Linked DNA regions of Homo sapiens: region 2 is linked to region 1. The links are contacts of gene promoters, found by promoter capture Hi-C in blood cells and fetal thymus (Javierre and others, 2016). All regions are on one chromosome and are shown on one strand. The core of a region is centred on a gene start or on the middle of the fragment in contact, and the rest is flanking DNA. Distances in the headings are between cores, read along the strand shown.

Region 1 (5,593 bases), core at 508-3,007:
GTCTTGAATACCATGAGTAATTGCCAGTGTTTAATTGCCTACTTGTCATGTGTTGGGCCCTCTGCATGGACTATCTTGTACCATCTGTACCACACTCTCAGGAGGCAGGTACTGTTATTATCACACCCATTTTCCACATGAGGAAACTGAAATACAAACGGTACTGCAGCTATTATAGGAAGCAGCAGGGCGGAGATTCAAGCCCAGGTTGCCTCGATCCAAGCCTCCAGGTTCATCACTGTACTCTTGTCTCTTGAGGTGGTCAGCCCCTGGGGAATGAGAGGCTGCATCTGTTTCATAGATGAGTAAATTAAGGCATTTGGCAGCAAGGATCCCTGCTAGGCGGAATTTTGACCTCCTCTGTTGCCAAGGAAACAGCCCATCTTTTAAAACGGGTCGTTTTGGGGGCAGTGTCCATCTGGGTCTGGGGTGCTGAGCCCTCTCCTCTTATCCCCACAGCCAGGCTGGACCCCAGGGGAAGACAGCAGAAGAGGTCAGGTGTTGTCCCATTTCAGGGGAACCCTCTTCTCTGGCTCCCTTATATCCCAGGTACATCCTCCCAGGTGTTCTGTCTCAAGCTGGGAGGGTACAAGAGAGGTGGCCGCAGTCTCTCTGTTAGCTTGGAATGGGCAGAGGCCATGGGCACTTGAGGCAGGCCTTCCCACCCAGCCCTCAGCCCCAGGGCGGGGAAGCACCTCAGGACTGCAAGGAAGCTGAGATCTCCAGCCTTTGGGGGGCATGGCCGGCCAGGCCCTGGGTGCCTTGTCACCTGGGAGGGAGTGCGGCACCTGAGCGTTGGGAGCCCTCGCTGGCTTGCTGTGTGATCTCAGTCATGTCGCCGTCTTCTTTGGGCCCCACTTTCCTCTTACGTAGAATGGGAAGGGGTGAGTTAAATGCTGAAGGGCCTTCCCAGAGCTCTGTCCCTTTGTCCAGCTCTGGTGGCCTTAGCAGCCTCTCCCTAGGGCAGCTTACCTTGGTGTCAGAGCCCTGTTCAGCTTCCTTGTGACAGGGAAGATACCAGGTACCAGGGGTGCCTGGAGGGCAGGGGGAGCTGTCACTATGCCCCTGCCTCTCTCAGTGTCTATCTCTGTTTTCACCCAGGCCCAAGGCCAGAGCTGCTCAGAATGGGACATCCATGTAGGGGACCATGATGATTTCTGGATTTGGAAGCAACAAGGAATCTCGGGGGGTCCTGCTCAGTCCCTGGGGCGCCTACAGAGGCCAGCGGTGGGCAGCGCCTTCGACCTGGCCAGCCATGCCTCCCTGGGGCCTGAGAGCCTGGCCCTGGAAGTGGCCTCAGGAGAGTCTGCTCGTACCAGGCTCCCCCAATACCCAGGGCCTGCTCCTGGACATGGGGAGCAGGGATCCTCAGGCTGCACCTGTCAGCAGTCTCCACCCACAGCTTCAGAGGTCCCTCTGAGGCCTGAGCCACCCAGCAACCTGGAAGACGCACCCCTGCTGCTCCACCCTGCATCCTTCCCCAGGGCAGAGGGGACAAAGGGCAAGCCCGCCACCCCAGGGACTGCCTTGCCAGAGCCTGCCCAGACCCTACACACGCGTCCCTCTTCCAGGAGGACCCGCTACTACATCACTGTCACCCTGCTGGGGCACAGGCAAGCACCAGGGGAGGAGGGTGAAGAACCGGCCCAACCAGCTCCACACCTCTGCGGCCCTGAGGAATCTGAGGGCTGGTGGGAGCCTCCCCAGGGGCCACGCCCCATCACAGGGTGCCGGACGGCCCCGCCTCAGGAACCCCAGCTGAGAGCCCAATCGCATCAGGGGAGCACGGCCCAGCAGCAGGAGCTCCAGGCTGGCTGGACACCTGGGTCCCCACGCAGACTGTGAGTAGAGGTCGGTCTGTGTGTGGAGATGGGAGGGGAGACTGGCCTGGCTGCCCTGTCTTGAGACTTTGCCTATTCCCTGGGCCTCTCCAGCTCTAGGCCCATTCATTCAGGACCCTGAGCCGACTCTGCCTTCCCTCCCTGCTCCAACCCTGCCTTCCTCTCCCTCCCTTTGCCCACAGGCTACCTCCTGGAACCCACTGCTTCTCACCCCCACTGTCCATCTGAGAAAGGGGAAAGTCTGTCAGGGAGAGGATGGGCAGGAAGGGGGGTTGCCTTCTTCACAGCATACACCACTCCCCAGTTCTGTTCAGGAGGCCACAGACTCAGCCTGGGAATTGGCACCCAGCCTAGGTGCTGGGTGTCCTGAGGCGAGTTGCTTAACCTCTCTGGGCCTTGAGTTGTTGAGAGGATTTGGTAGCTGAAAATGAGGAAGGAGGAGGTGGCTACAGGAATATACTTTGAACTCCAGAGACTGGGGGTGCCAAAATAGCAGGGATGCTTATTAATTACGTCTCAGTGACAGCAATAATTACCCCACCTGGCTCTGAGCTGGAAGCCAAAGGAGTGGGTGTCGAGTTTCCCAAGCCTAGTTTTATTTGTGTTGAAATGACTCTCCTAAATCTGCCTGGGGGGCGCAGAGGTGGAAGGATATGTCCCCCAAAGCTCATCAAGGAGGGATGAACATGGAACCTCCCAGGGATGACCCTGAAGAGGAAATGAGCCTGGGGTGGGGTTTTGAAGGGTGCTTAAGGATGATGGGGTGGCTGTCATTTGCAATTTGTTTTCTAAGCATAATTTTATTTAATCTTCCCAACCATCCCATGAGTAGGGACTGATCCCAACCCCTGTCACCTAATTCTAGGAGGCTCTGAAAGTCACTTGCTCAAAGTCAACTAGAAAGTGAAGGGGCTAGAATCTGAACTTAGGTTTCTATAACTCCAGTGCCTGTGCTCTAACCACTGCTCCATCCTGCCTGGAAGAAACCTCTTTGGCCCTGTGCAGAGAGTGGAGGGTTGAGTGAGGTTGCTGTGTGGGCTCCAGGGTTTTCTAGGCTCCTATGGCGGTGGATTGGGCAGCATTGTAGTAGCAGAGGCAGAATCAGGAATGCTGGGGTCCTCCAAGCAGGGGTCAATGTGACTGCTTCCGTGCCAAGGAAGAGGGAGATGTAGGACCCAGGCTGGCTCTGAGACCTGCTTGGATGCCCCAGAAGTCAGGGGCTGGGGGACAAGGGCTGCAGAGAGAGGGAAGGGGGGTGGAGGAGGCTACCTTGGAGAGGGGGACGGGAAAGAGAAGTAGGGTTAGCTGGGGGGAGGTGGTTTCTATCTGCCACTACCTGGGTATTTTGGGCCCAGGTGGATAATGACAGACTCAGGTGGGAGGCTAGGGCTCACTTAGAGTGGGGGGCAGGTGACCTCCAGAAACATCATCCTTCTATGTCCCCTTCCTGGGAGAAGGTTCTCTGGGCCAAGATTGGCAAATATGGGAGTCGAGAAGAAGTGAGACATAGCTGGGACTGCCAGTGGGAATGTGTAAGATACGTGTGCATCCAAGCGTGTGTGTCCACGTTCAGGGGTAGGTGAATTTCAAGGGGAAGAGAGCTTGGGGCTGTGAATTGACTGTGTGTGTATTGTGAATGTGTGCACGTGTGTGTCACTGTGCCTGTGTTTCTGTCTGTATGTGATTTGTGTGTCTGTTGTGGCTCTGAGTGCCTGTGCGTGTTTGTATTTCTTGGGTGAGTGTATATTTGTGTGTGTGTCCCTGGTTGTGTATGTTTTTATAGGCTTCTAGGTGTATCTTTGTGCCTGTGTGATTGTGGGTCTGTGTCGGTATCTGTCTGTGTGTCTGTGCCTGCGTCTGTGTGACACAGCATGTGTTTGCCTGCATGTGGGCCTGTGGACTGGTTTGGCCTAGTTTGGGGGTGACTCACAGGTAAGTGGGGAGAATCCAGGACTTGTTGGGTTAGACAAGGCTCTTTCCCACACTCCCCCCGCCCCCTCCTCAGCCTCTCCCTTCCCAGCTCCACACGCCTTGTTTGGAGGTCACAGGTCACGCTGCCAACAAATCCACTTCTGGTCTGGGGCCCTGCAGAAGAAAGGGCTCTGGGAATGGCCCCTTCTGCTGGCCCAGGAGAGGCATCCTGGGTCATTGTATTGGGGTATGTCTTCAGAGCAAGGACAAAAGGGGGCATCTATAGGCAGGCACATTCCAGCAGAGTCTGAAGGACATTCTAGCACTCATGACTGTTCAGGGACGGGGCAGGTGAACTGTCGAGTGGTGACCTCCCTGTCCCTGGAGGTATGCAGGCAGAAGCCAATGACCACATGCTTGTGGAATGACTGGCTATCAGGGGTGTTGTCCAGGGGTTGGGCTGGTTGAGAAAGACGTTAAATTCTGATTGGTAGGAGGTCATCGACAATATCTGATCTCATGATCGGCCGCCTCCTTTAACATTGCTCTCCTGTCGCTTTCCTGATGCCTATGGCGCTTTCCAAATGTCCCTGTTTTTATGTCTAATTCCTTGGCCCCTGGCTTCTTAATATGCCACCTTTCATGAGAAAGTTGGCTCTGGTTCTGGTTGAGTCTAGCCAAGGCCTAGCACATCCCTTGATACAATTAGCACTGAATGAGTGAGTAATTGAATGAATGAATGAATGAGTTAGAGCTCAAGCTTTGCCACTTACTATAAGCACCATCAGAGACAAGGAAGCTCGGAGAGTGGAAGGCAGGTGGACAGGGGCTTAGGAGGTGCTCAGCGAGGGCGTCAAACTTCATTTGGGCAGAGTCCCAGCGAGGAGGGCAGGGGTTGCATGAGGAAAAAGGGAGCTCCCTAATGGGGACAGGGGAGTGGGCTGGGGCCTCAGTGAGAGGCTAAAATCCAGAGCCTTTGGTGTCTGGCTGTGTACTGCTCTCAGGAAGCCCTGGCCTGGGAAAATGACCAGGGCTCTACCTAACCCCTCCACCTTCCAGTCCCCCTTGGACCCTGTCCCTGACACTGTCATAGCCACCAGCAGTCCTGGAGTCAGGTCAGGCTTCCCGGGGCTTCAGTCTCTTTCATCTCTGCCCCTCATAAAGCCTGAGTCACTGCTGTGGCCACAGGGAAGGGTCAAAGTTCTGAATTCCACCAGCTTCTCAGGAAGGAGGACAATGGGAAATGGGGGAGGGGAGTGGGGGCAGTGGGTCCATTTCCTGCCCAGAGTCAGGTCTCTTGGGGAGGGGAGGGTACCTCATGGAGAAGGCCCAAAGACTCGGGCTGAACAGGCTGGCCTCTCTGGGGTTCGTGGGGCCTAAGAATAGGATTGCCCTGGTCAGTGTAGCTTGGAAGTCAGGGAGTGGGGGTGGAGACGCCCTCCAGGACTGACATGGCTCCCTGTAAATGTAAACCCCCAAACCAGAGACTCAGTTATAGGATACATATATTAGGGAGTTTGGTATGGTGAGTGAGCACTTAGGGTTGGGGTTCAAGTCTTGTTTCGGTTACTCTGTGACTTTGGACAAGTTTCTTAACCTCTCTGAGCATTTAAAAAATCTCATCTGCAAAATGGGAAGGTATGATCTAATTTATTAATAATTTATTCTTTATGAGGTCTCAAGCTCCTGGGATTCTTCTGAGGCTTCAATGGGACAATGAATCTAAAGCACTTAGCAAGGTGTTTGGCAGAGTCAGCCCTCCCCAAATGGCTGTTTTTGTTGTTGTTGCAACTAGTAAAACAGAGAAATTCACCTGAGAGTTCCTAGGGAGCTTAGTCTAT
Region 2 (5,593 bases), core at 1,188-3,687, 270 kb after region 1:
CTGTTGCTGAGCACCTTGAATCTCCCTTCCTCATTCTCTCACTTCTGTCTCTTCCTTGGCCACCTTCCTAGACCAGGGAGGCAGCCAAGTACCATAGTGTGATAGGATCACACGCAAGCACTTTGAAAGTACTCAGACCTGGGCTCAAATCCCAGCTCTGCCATTCAGTTCATTTCACAGGGTCTGGGTTTATTGGTCTGTGTAGGGAAGTTGTGCCTTGCTGGTGGCTGAAGAGTAAGTGAGATGATGTTGGAGGTGACAACAGCTGGCACACAGTAGGTATTTGATGAGTGACAGTGCCTTGCCCTTTCCCTACCAATCTTGGGGAACTGTCTTGTTTTCCTCATAGCTTGGCTCGTTCTACTTAGGAAGCAGAGAGGTAGTTGAAGTTCTTGGGTAATCATTGACTCTCAAAATATCTCTCTGGGGGAACCAAGATCTCCAATATCCCTTTTCAAAGTATTTTAAACAGTTAGCTTAATTTGCAATCATAATGCTATCATTAACTGAGTGTTTATTACCTGTCAGTTACTTTGCTAAGTGCTTTATGTATTTTGTCTTCTTTCATCCTCATGACAACTCTATGAAAAAAGTTCCATTATCGTCTCCATTTTATAGTTCAGGAAACTGAGGCTCAGAAAAATGAATTGACTGGCTTAAAGTCACATAGCTAGTTAAAGGATGAAACTGGGACTTGAACCTACATTTATCTGGCACCAAAAACCTGAGTGCCTGATCACTAGACCATCCTGCCTCACAGCCTATCTGGCCAAAGTAGGGAGAGTCAACATGTTTCATTTCCTGCATGGCTAGAAGCTCAGAAAAGTGAGAGGTTTGTTCAGAGTCCCATAATGGACTGGACACTAAGCCAGGGTATGGTGGGTCTGGCCCCAGGTCCCAAACCTGCCCCAGCAGAGAAAACTGGGAGGTCTGAGACTTCAGGGCAGCTTGGACCTTCCTCCTAGAGCTGGACTGCCTCCCCAGAGCAACCGAGCCATAAACACAAGCAGCTCTTTCAACACGACACTGAGCCTGAGTCACTGAGTATTTATAGATGGGCCTCTTCTCCTCGCCTCAGCTTTGCCAGGATTTATCAGGTTCACCTGGGGTTTGGAGGGTGACAACCTGTTTATCATCCAAGGTGCCCAAGCAGGATGTTGGGACATTCTCCGAGAACGAGATCTGGAGTCCTGCCTGTGTTTAGACCTGGCCTGACCCCCCACACCCAGACTGAGGCAATTCTCCCTATCCAAGGTGTGCCCTCTTCTACCAAATACTCCCCATGCTTACCCCATCACAACCTTATATACCTAGGGAATTCATGGTCTCAGGTTAAAATGGGACAGAAATGCTGCTTCTTTCAGGAAGACATCCTGGATTGATCTAGGAAGGTTAAAAACTTTCCCTAACCCCACTGCTCTGAGGGAGTAAACTCTCTCATTGGTCAGATAATTAAATTAATCATAATAACATTTGCTAAGACTGGGAGGACAAGGTAGGAGGATTGCTTGAGGGCAAGAGTTCGAGACCAGCCTGGTTACATAGAGAGACCCTGTCTCTACAAAAAAAAATAAAAAGAATTACCCGGGTGTGGTGGCACATGCCTGTAGTCCCAGCTACTCAGAGGCTGAGGCAGGAGGATCACTTGAGCCCGGGAGGTTGAGGCTGCAGTGAGCTGTGACTGCATCACTGCACTTCAGCCTGGACAACAGAGACAGAGAGAGAGAGAGAGAGAGAGAGAGAGAGAGAGAGAGAGAGAGCCTGTCTCAAAAAAAAGTAAAACAAACATTTTCTAAGGACATTCTATGTGCCAGATACTATGCTAAGACTTTTAACATTACCTTTTTGTTTTTTTTTTTAAAGATGGGGTCTTGCTGTGTTGCCCAGGCTGGAGTGCAGTGGTGCAATGACAGCTCACTACAGCCTCAAACTCCTGGGCTCAAGCGATCCTCCCGCTTCAGCCCCCTGAGCAGCTTGAATTACAGGTGTGTGCCACAGCACTCAGATTAACGTTATCTTTTTGAATCCTCACAATTTTATAAGTTAAATATTAATTTAACATCATCTTTATAGATAAGGAAACTGAGGCTCACAGAGGTAAAGTAACTTGCCCAAGCCACACGGCTTTCCTCCTAGTAAGTAGCAGGACTGTGCTCAAAATCTACGTTTTCCTTGGTTCAGTGGTCCAAGCTGTAGGTGACCTTGGACAAGTTACTTCACCTCTGAACTCAGTTTATCTGTAAAACAGAGACATTAATACCGACAGTTGTACAGACTGAATAAACCCAGTACACAGTAGGCTCCCAACTGCTGACTGCTGTCCCACACCTGATAAATTTGTTTGTTCTAAGTTGCTTAGGACAATCAGCCAGGCCACATCTGGCTCAACTCTGGGGACTTGAACCTGGGACCCAGGCTGTTCCAGCCACCCCTGCTCCTCTGCCCCTACTCTTTCCATCTCCTTAATAGCCATCATGTCCTGAGTGACTCAGAACACAGGGGCGGGGTGGGTGAAGGGGGCTGGGGAAAGTAGGGTGGTGAGTGAATAGGGGGATTGGGGGTGGTTGTGTACAGAGGCACAGTAGATAGACCTGGCTCTCGCTCCTGGGATCTATTTTGGATGGGGCCAGCCTCCAGGCTGCTGGAAGCTGGAGGTGGAGGTCAGTGCTGAGTTAACGGAGCGGCTCTTGGAGCCAGATTTAGTGGTTGAGTTCTGACCACAGAGGGTGGCTTAGCTGCGGGCACTGGGCCAAAGCCACTTCTGTGATTCCTGCCGTGGGGTTCTGGGTCTTTGTACAGGGCACCATGCTCCTTTCTACTGTCTTTACCACACCCTCCCCAGCCCAGTACAGAGCCTCTAACTTGAGATTCAAACAGATTTGGGATCAAGGCCTGGCTGTTCCACCTACTAACAGTATGACCTTGGTGTCCTGAGGGTTTTGATGATTAATTGGGGTGTCCAGATAGGGCTGTCTTCCCCCCACTTCCCCCAACACCACTGGGGCCCATGAGGCCAGGGCTAATTCTCCTGTCTTCATCCTACCTCTCAGGGTCCATTCCCCCGGCCTTGACCTGGCTGTTCCAGGGCCCCCAGGGCTCGCCTTGCATGGTGCTTCCAGAAACTCTGATCCTAAGTGGCCCCTGGCCTACCCAGGGCTGTGCCAGGGCCCAGCTCTGACAGAGGTGAGGGCCCAGTTCTGCTCAGCTGTAGCTCAAGTTTCCTGCTGGGCCTCGTTAAATGGGCTTATTAAGGAGCCTTTAGAGGGCCTCATTAAGGAGCCCTGGCTCCTAGTTTTTAACAGTTTGGAGATTTCTTTCCATCCATTTTCTATGCCTGTACCACATATTTGTTACATACGTTTATTTAGATACCCATGTATAATATTTTTTAGAAGAATAGGATCAGATTATATTTAATAGGCGTGTGTTTTTCTGTTTGTGCCTAACAATATATTGCTGACATCTTTTGATATTGGTATTCAATATGGAAAGCTCAATGTCCATTGTTTTAAAATTGGAGGAATATTTATGTATATATATAAGCATTTATTTTTCTGCATGGACATTTGGAATGCTTATTGGGGTATGCTTTTTGTTGTTGTTATTGTTTAGTAAACTTTTTCTTCAAGTATAATATACATTCAGAAAAGTACACATTGCAATCCCAGCACTTTGGGAGGCTGAGGTGGGTGGATCACTTGAGGTCAGGAGTTTGAGACCAGCCTGGCCAACATGGTGAAACCCCATCTCTACCAAGCAATACAAAAATGAGCCTGTAGGTCCAGCTACTCGGGAGGCTGAGGCGGGAGAATTGGTTGAACCTGGGAGGTGGAGGTTGCAGTGAGCCGAGATTGCGTCACTGCATTCCAGCCTGGGTGACAAGAGTGAAACCCTGTCTCAAAAAAACAAAATAAGTACACAATTCCTAAGTGTACAATTCAAGGCATTTTCACAGAGTGAGTATACCTGCATCACCCACACCCAGGTCAAGAAACAGGCCATCACCAGCACTCGCAGGGGCTCCATGCTTCCTTCTGGCCTCCTCAAGGATAACCACCATCCTGAATGCTGACAGCTCAGATTCGTTTTGCCTTTTTCAAAGTTTATATAAACAGAATTATACAGGATGTCCTCTTTTGCTTGACATTCTATTTATGAGCTTCCCTCATGTTGTTACGTGTGGCAAGATTTGTTTATTCTAATTCTGTATAATATTCCACTAGGTGACTATACGGCAATTTATTTATTTGTCCCATTGATGGACATTTGGGCTGTTTCCAAGGTTTTGCTACTGCAAACAAAATTGCAAAAACGTCCTGGTGTGTAAATAGCTCTCTATATCTGCATATCTGTATCTATCTATCTAATTATATCTTTCTGTTATCTTTCTAGTCTTTTGATAAGATAGAGTCCTCAGAATATAATTGCTGAGTCACATGTATGTATTGTTAACATTTTTCTTTGTCAGATTGCACTCTCCTGCTCCCCCAGGGCCAAGAGCAGTGCCAGTGCCCATGTCCCTACCCCTCACCGAGCTTGGATATTATTAATCTTTAATACTTTTGTCTATTGGATCAAAGAAAAATCAGATTTTATTGTGGTTTTAATGTGATATTTTTAAATTAGTGGGGATAAGCACTTTTTTTCGCTTTTGTTTTTGGGGACATTGACATTTATTCTTCTGTGAATTGCCATTTTATATCTTTTGCTTATTCTTAAAATTTTAACGTATTATGGATTTTGACATTTGGTCTTTTCATGTTTCTAGTGTTTTCCCCCCACCAGCTTTGTTTGTGAAGCAACTGCTGTTTTAAATATAGTTTGTTTTCCTCCTGCTCACTGTTTATGATCTGGATAGTCCCTGAGGGTGTGTGTGGCAAACCCCAGGTTCAAGCTGTGGGGGTGGGGAGCGGCAGGCCAGGTGGGGTGGGCAGCTGAGCCCCCAAGACTGTCTCCCAGGGGTATAAACAAAGGAACATCTGGGCCAGCACTGAATCCTTGGACTTGGAGTTTGCCCCAGAGGCTTCCCCCAGTCCTGTTTCCAAGTCTTCCCAGTGGCACGTAGGGCCTCACTGTCAGTGAAAAGAGCCTCTCACCCAGCAAACGGGCCAGGCGGGAATCAGGGGGCGCCAGGGCCTGTGTTTGTCCCGGAGAAAGAGGGAAAGGTTAAGAACAAGGGCTAAACAGTCAGCGCTCTGAAGTCAAATCCTGAACCCTCTGAGTGCAAAGCCTCATGAGTCTGCTAAAATCCCACAGCTTGGGTGGCTTAAACAACAGAAATTTACTTCTCACAGTTCTGGAGGCTGGCAAGTCCAAGATCTAGGTGATTTTATTCTGAGTTCTCTTCTCTTGCCTTGTAGGTAGCTACCCTCTTGCTATGTGTTCACATGGTCTTACCTTGGTGTGTATGCATAGAGAATGGGAGAGAGAGGCAACCGCCCAACAGGTTCACCTTGCCCACTGCCTAGGCAGAGACAATTTATCAAGACAGGGGAATTGCAATGGAGAAAGAATAATTCATGCAAAGTCGGCTGTGTGGGAGGCTGGAGTTTTATTGTTACTCATATCAGTCTCCCCAAGCATTCGGGGATCG

Evidence for each region. Contacts are between HindIII fragments. The CHiCAGO score rates a contact against its expected background, and 5 or more counts as called.
Region 2: a contact is called between a fragment that was not itself captured here and the fragment with the promoter of CRYBG2 in region 1, in 1 of 17 cell types (M0 macrophages). The highest score is 5.2, in M0 macrophages.

What each region holds. Positions count from the first base shown.
Region 1 is chr1:26,350,294-26,355,886 of GRCh38, reverse strand. CRYBG2 (crystallin beta-gamma domain containing 2) reads left to right here and starts at 1,757. Exons shown (of 20, transcript NM_001039775.4): 1 at 1,757-1,851. RefSeq lists a silencer at 4,258-4,456. The HindIII fragment of the contact is 7,544 bases long and covers 1-4,514 here.
Region 2 is chr1:26,078,871-26,084,463 of GRCh38, reverse strand. No RefSeq gene overlaps it. Among named protein-coding and RNA genes, the nearest start is that of TRIM63, 14 kb to the right of the region's middle. RefSeq lists a silencer at 5,072-5,248. The HindIII fragment of the contact is 7,537 bases long and covers 1-5,593 here.